Regions from separate parts of the Homo sapiens genome. Here region 1 is linked to region 2. The links are contacts of gene promoters, found by promoter capture Hi-C in human tissues and cell types (Jung and others, 2019). All regions are on one chromosome and are shown on one strand. The core of a region is centred on a gene start or on the middle of the fragment in contact, and the rest is flanking DNA. Distances in the headings are between cores, read along the strand shown.

What was found. Contacts are between HindIII fragments. The study calls those that stand out against the background at their distance.
Region 1: a contact is called between the fragment with the promoter of PSMC1 here and the fragment with the promoter of KCNK13 in region 2, in 1 of the 25 tissues and cell types used here (neural progenitor cells).

Annotation. Positions count from the first base shown.
Region 1 is chr14:90,254,589-90,257,927 of GRCh38, reverse strand. PSMC1 (proteasome 26S subunit, ATPase 1) reads right to left here and starts at 1,375. Exons shown (of 11, transcript NM_002802.3): 1 at 1,328-1,375. The coding sequence starts at 1,330. RefSeq lists enhancers at 672-1,199, 1,085-1,324, 1,200-1,729. The HindIII fragment of the contact is 25,675 bases long and covers 1-3,339 here.
Region 2 is chr14:90,059,827-90,063,327 of GRCh38, reverse strand. KCNK13 (potassium two pore domain channel subfamily K member 13) reads right to left here and starts at 1,334. Exons shown (of 2, transcript NM_022054.4): 1 at 789-1,334. The coding sequence starts at 1,122. It overlaps LOC124903406, which reads right to left. Exons shown (of 3, transcript XM_047432048.1): 2 at 2,417-2,926; 3 at 1,595-1,966. The coding sequence ends at 1,702. RefSeq lists enhancers at 1,392-1,891, 1,892-2,393 and a silencer at 2,642-3,031. The HindIII fragment of the contact is 23,188 bases long and covers 1-3,501 here.

The DNA of each region.
Region 1 (3,339 bases), core at 126-2,625, 190 kb before region 2:
TAGAATACTACCCAGAAATCCGTATAAGACCTCTATGAGGCCGGGCGCGGTGGCTCACGCCTGTAATCCCAACACTTTGGGAGGCCGAGGCGGGCGGATCATAAGGTCAGGAGTTCAGGACCAGCCTGGCCAACAGAGTGAAACGCCGTCTCTACAAAAATACAAAAATTAGCCGGGCGTAGTGGCGGGCGCCTATAGTCGCAGCTACTTGGAAGGCTAAGGCAGGAGAATCGCTTGAACCCGGGAGGCGGAGATCGCGCCACTGCACTCCAGCCTGGACGACAGACCAAGACTCCGTCTCAAAAAAATAAAAATTAAAATTAAAATAAAAAAGACCTCTATGAGATCTGGCCTTCTTGCCGTTCATGATACAGGTTAAACATTCCCATCTCAGGTCCTTTGCACTTGCTGTATCTTCTGCCTTGACCACATTTCCCTCAGACATCTGCAGGGGTTACTCCCTCAATTTCGGTCCGCTCAAATTTCACCTCCTCAGAGCTACCTTCGCTGACTCTATAAAAAGCAGCCACTCCTCCAAGCTATCCCTTTCTATACAATAACCATACAACAATGACCACCCCACCCCTGACATCATATTACATATTTCTGATGATTGTCTGCCTTCTGCTCTAGAATGTACGCACTATGAAGGCAGGGACTTCAATCAATCCTCAGTGTCTACAACAGAAGCTAGCCAAAAGTTTAACAACAACAACAAAACACCAAGTGCTCAGTAAATACTTGTTTAGTGAATTGATGAATAAATGCTAGCTGTTTTTATTATTACTACTGCACCACGGGCCCTTTCCGTCTTAGCTCCGCCTGTCATAACAACGTCTTTAAGGCCTCCTTCAAATGCCCCCAGCTCCGAAAGGCCTTCCACGACTCCGCGCTCAACTCCTCAGGTGGAATGAATCCCACCCTCTTCTCCAGCACCCTTCACCTGCCCGACTCAAAAAGCATTTTTCCCGGTGACTCGAGGAGGCGCCCCCGAAACTCCCAGCGCCGATCAGCAAAGCCCTGGTCGGCGGAGCAGCAAAGCCAGCGGCCTGATCCGTTCTGCCGCCCCACAAGACCACGCAGGAGACCCTCTCTCTGCTCTGAGCCCCGGCCCCAGGATCCCCGGGCAAGGCCCGTTGGTCGGCCCCGGCCCGCGGTGGACATGAGCGCGGTCTCTGGGAGCCTCCACCCGCCGAGAAGATCAGGCCGGCAAAAGGAGAAGAGGGCTGTCCCAGTTCCTCGGGCAGCCGCCTCTTTCTCTCGCCTCAGGCTGCTGAGACCCCATCGCACCGCGACGACCAGCGGAAAGAAACCCTTAGTCACTCACCATCTTGCCTTGGCCACTTGAGCTGCCGCTGCCGGAAGTTCCTCCACCACTGCGGCCCGCCAGAGGCGGAAGTCGTTAGGGACGCTACGGAAGCTGATAGGAACCAAATTCTGCGCTGACCAAGTTGTGCTCCAAGGGCTTGTGCGGGCGGTCTAGGGCAACGCAGCAGTTTATAAGCATAAAGTGAACTTTATAAATATTTTACTTGAAAGAAATTTTTGAATACCCGTTATGAGGCGCTTGTCAACAACTTAAGACAATGACCCCTACTGTCAAAGAATTAGGACAATCGTGAAAATATAAAATATTTAAATTATGCAAAATTTATAACTGGGAAGAACTTTATGGTTCTAAAAACTGGAATGGTATTTGGAACTGGGAAGTTGACATATACATTTGCACAAATATTTCAGTTATTATTCAGCTTCTGGAATTTAACCTGCACATCTGGGAGTATGTGTGTAACGAGTCTTCTAAACCTGTCTTTTTCTGATGACCTGTGACTTGTGATGATGCCAAATGTCTTAAATTCCTCATCTTGAAGCTGATTGGTAAAGTTCCTCATTTGTTACACCCTCCAGGACATCAGAAAAATGGCAACAATCCCTTCTGTTTCTGGAAATTTCATTAACAAGTGCTCAAAATACTGCATCTTTCTGAACTGGAGAAATGGATGATTTTTTTTCTGCTCCAGATTGATTTAGGGATTTTAGTTGTGAAACACTAAAAATATTTCCCTTATGAACACACAACAGGTATACTTCTTCCTTTTCATCATCACTGCAACACGGTAATAGAAAGTCTTAGCACTATCGACCTCTGTTAACAAATCTGGCATCTAGTGTACATGACACATGAAATCACACGATAGGACAGTATCACACATAGGATAGAGATGGTGAAACTCCCATCTCTACTAAAAATACAAAAATTAGTCGGGCATCATCGTGGGCATCTGTAATCCCAGCTGCTTGGGAGGTCGAGTCATGAGAATCTCTCGAACCTGGGAGGCGACGGTTGCAGTGAGATCACGCCCCTGCACTCCAGTCTAGGTGACAGAGCGAGACTCTGTCTCAAAAAAAAAAATTAATAAAAATTTAAAAAACAAAATAAATATCCTTTCCCTAATGCATTTTACAAGAAACAAGTAAATAGTAAAATATATAGTATGCCACATAGTGGTAAATGCCATAGGAAAAATTAATGCCTAGGAAAAATGCCTAGGATTAGGAGCATGCAGCAGTGGTGGGTGATTTTAACTTTAAATTGGATGATACTTGAGCAAAAGCCCGTAAGGCATGAAGGAGTAAGCTATTCAGATATCTGGTGGAAGAGCTTTCTAGGTAGAGGGAACAGCCAGGGCAGAGGCCCTGCAGTAGAAGCTGCAGAGGATGGAGATTAGAGACACCATATAGTGAAGAAGTCAGAAACAGGCACATAACTCCCAGTGGAAGCTCAGCGGTTAAAGGCGAGTCAATAGAACCCAGTAATGAAGAGAGTAGCCAACGTTGGCATCAGACTTTCCTATTGTGGCTGTAGGAAGTGACATAAAGTAAGCAGAAAATTTAAGTTTATCTACATAATGGACAGCTAAGAGAAAGCAGGGAGAGGATTAGAAAGACTACTTGGAGTGCTCAGCACTTGGGGAGGTTGGAAGTTGCAAGTGGAAAAGAGGGAGAGTTGCAGAGATGACTGTCAACCGGGTGGGGAGGATTGAGAGTCAGCCATAGGGCAAAAGAGATGCACAGGGGCTGGGCGCCGTGGCTCACGCCTGTAATCCCAGCACTTTGGGAGGCCGAGGCGGGTGGATCACCTGAGTTCAGGAGTTCAAGACCAACCTGACCAATATGGTGAAACCTCATGTCTACTGAAAATACAAAAATTAGCTGGGAGTGGTGGCAGATGCCTGTAATCTCAGGTACTCGGGAGGCTGAAACGGGACAATCGCTTGAACCTGGGAGGCGGAGGTTGCAGTTAGCCGAGATTGCGCCATTGCACTCCAGCCGGGGCGA
Region 2 (3,501 bases), core at 85-2,584:
AGGTGCCTCTAGGTAAATTCCAGCTCCTCAGTCTGTCAGTGAAGGTCCTACCCCCGCCTCCATCCCATTAGCCAGCAGACCTTCCTAGTCTTCCTTCCACCACTCCAACCAGCTCATGGGGCCCCTGAGTGCGATTCTCTCCTACTCTAGAGTGCAACCGCGCTTTCAGTTCCCAAACCCAAGTTATGCCTAACACGAATTGATTCAGCCCAAAGGTCACTTCCCTGGTTCTTCCTGGTGGAAAATTTTCCATCTTTTGAACCGTCATTGGCACTTTTGCTTCCTCACTTTCAGTCTGCTGTTCTGATTTTTTCTCGGTAAGTGTGAAGTCGAGGGCAGAATCTTTTAAAATCTGCACTTCCCCTCTGACTGACTCAGTAAATGTTTAGTTTCCTGTCCCTATCTGTAAAAGCCTTCTTCCCCATGAACTCAAGCCGTGTCTCCTTCATTAGACTGAAAATCTCCCAGAGCAGAGCGTCTCCAATTTAAGGATCATTCCAATCCTTTGGGGACTTTGTTAACATGCAGATTCTGACTCGGCAGGTCTGCAGAGGGGACTGAGACTGCATTTCTAACAAGCTGCCAGGTGACGCTGAAGCTGCCGGTGCCTGGACCACATTAGAGCAGCGGGGAGGCAATACCACCTGTTGATCAGGCGACAGCTCATGTCAGTGGAGTCTGGCTGGGCGCCCAGATGGATGAATGAAAGGATGAGAGGGTCGGTCCTGCCCCCCGGAGGAAGTGGAGGCCGCCCGGAGGTTGTCAGCGAGTCCGGCCAGCACACTTACCTATGGTGGAAACGACGGTGCCCACGAAGTAGAAGGCGCCGGTGAAGTCCCAGCGCGGGCGGACGTTGTCCACGCGGATGCCGGCCCGAGTGGCCTCCTCGTAGTGGCGGAGGAAGCCGCGCAGCTCGTCGCGGCTCAGGTTGTGGCCGCGGCTGAAGTTGGCCAGGCGCTCCTCCCAGCGCTGCTTGGCCTGGCGCTCGTGCGCCAGCTCCAGCGCGGAGAAGACGGCGGCGCCGCCCAGCAGGTAGAGCACGATGAGCGCGGCCAGCAGCAGAAAGCGCGCGTTGTCCTCGTTCAGGTGGCCCGGGCCCCAGCTGAAACCCCGGCCAGCCATGGCCGGGCCCCCGGGGGCAGCCCCCAGGCCCACGGCACCGGGCGTCGGCGGAGTCTCGCCCACACCCCCGGGAAATAAGGGCCCCGGCGCTCAGCCAGCTCCCGGGCGCCCCACCGCCGGCTCGCCCATGACCGCCGGGCTCTCCCGCAGGCCGCGAGGCTCCCCCGGCCGCCGCCTCGGTAGCTCCTGTGGCGCCAGCTCCCCACGTCCTCCTTGACTCCTAGTTTCAAATCCGCTTTGTCGCCGCCGTTCCCCTCCACTCCCCCTGCTCTCCTCGGAGTTCTCCTTAACGCTGAAGGTCCCGGGGAACGGGCGCAGAGTTCACGTCTGCTTGGCGCTGGGATGCGGGCGCAGTTTCCACCCCGGCTCCCTGTCCGGCTCAGATAGGGGAGGGGGCGTGGCGCGTCTTCAGGGCAAGCTCGAGCCAACTCGAGTTTCCCGCAAAGAGACGGTCGCGGGGCGGGGCGGGGCGGGGCGGGGCGGCGGGGGGGGGGCGCGGTCCGGAGGTCTGCGGGTAAGCAGAGCGCCGGGGTCCTGGGTCCTGGTTCCTTTGACTATCGCTTCGCAGGCCGCCGACGGCTAGGACACGGGTGTCAGTCTGCTGGCTTTGTAGGTGCCTCCCCAGGTAGATCGACGATGGTGCCTCCTAGTTGTGGTCGTGGTGTCGCGCTGAGCCTGTGGCCTCCCGAGTCTCCGAATCGGCTGCCGGGGCTTAGGGATGGAGGGGGTCCAGGGCGGGCGCACGGAGAGAGGGGCTGTGCTGAGCGGCGTCCGAGGGCTGCGGCGTCCGAGGGCTCCGACCTCCGGCCGGGCCCCAACGCTGCGCATCCGTTGGGCGGACGGGCTGGAGAGAGGAGACCAGAAAGGGAGGTTGGAACAGGGAGCAAAGGAAGTTAGGGGCTTCTCCCCCGGGCAGCCTCCCTCGCCTTGACCATGCCAGAGCGCCCTTGGTCTCTGGATCCTGCGCGGGGGCGTCCTCTGCGCCTACTAGTAGGCTCCGCCCGGACCAAGCGCGCACCGCGAGCCAGCCCCGCTTCCGGAGAGGAGGCCAAACACTGGGGGCTGGAAGGGCTCCGCGGCCAGGAGACCTTGACCTTGGAGCGTTCCATCTCTTCCCCCCGGGCTTGGCTGCCTAGTGCGTTCCAGAGTTTTGCCTGGACGCGGGGTCCGCGCAGAAGGCATCCCCCACCTCATGCAGAACAGTAGCAAGGCTCTCCAGCAAACCGCCGGGGCCCCCTCCCCGAGACCCCGCCTTGTAGCGGGCGCTGGCGCCGCTGCCGCGCTCAGATCTCACCTTCCGGGGAGCGCCCTCTCCGCGCCGCTCCGTCGGGACTGTTCCCGGGCCTCCTGGCAGCCGCGGCCCTGCCCTGCCAGCCGGCGCGCGGAGCACAGGTCCGCACCGCGCTCTGCCTTCTCAGGCGGGCGCGCTCCGACGCTGCAACAGGTAGAGCCGTGCGGCTGCCAGCTGCGGCGACTCCACCCTGTCGCCCGCCTCCTTGCGCGCGGGCCCGCCTCCTGCGCTGGTCTCCGCGGGTAGACGCTCGGCGTTCGAAGGGCCGACCCGGGGCTGCGGTGCTCCCACCAGGGCGCGCAGATCTGGGTAGTGGATGCAGAACCGGCTGGTGGGACGCTCAGCCGGTCCGCGTGGGCCCTCCGGGGCCGGGAGAGGGCGCTCTGCCCCCTCCAGACACATCCCGCCCCCGCCCGCGCACACAGCCCCGCGCGGCCCTCCGGAATCACCCGCCCGGGCGTGTGGGAGCGAATCTGTACGCGGAGAGGAATGGATACGTGGGCATCTTCCCACCTTCCGAGAGAGCGGTTTCAGGCGCAGAGCCCCACACACCGCCCTTACGCACCAGGAGCAGAGACAGAAGGGCTAGGAGCCCTGTTGAGTAAAACCGTGTGATTTCGAATAAAGAAACACAGCTCTGGCGAGTGCATTTTCATCAGAAACCCTGGTGCTGTTAGCAGTCCTCTCGGCTCTGTTACTCACTCCCCAATGCCCCTCTTTCATCTAGCCTTCTGAGGGGCAAGAGCTTTAGGGGCATCGCGAGAATGGGTGCATGTGTATACACCCAGGGTGAGTACTGCAATTACCTTTTAAATCCATTTTATTATGAAAAATTTCAAACATTCTAAAAAGTTGAATTTTACAGTGAACACCCGTATACCCACCACCTAGATTCTACAATTAACATGTTACTATACTTGATTTATTAGATATCTACCCGTCCCTCTGTCCATCCATCAACCCATCTTGTTTGGATGCATTTCAGAGTAAGTTGCAGAGCTTGGTACACTTCCGCCCTCATCCCCAGTACTTCTGCCTGCATATCACTACGTAGGGTTCAATATTTACTTGCAGAATTTTTTTCCTTT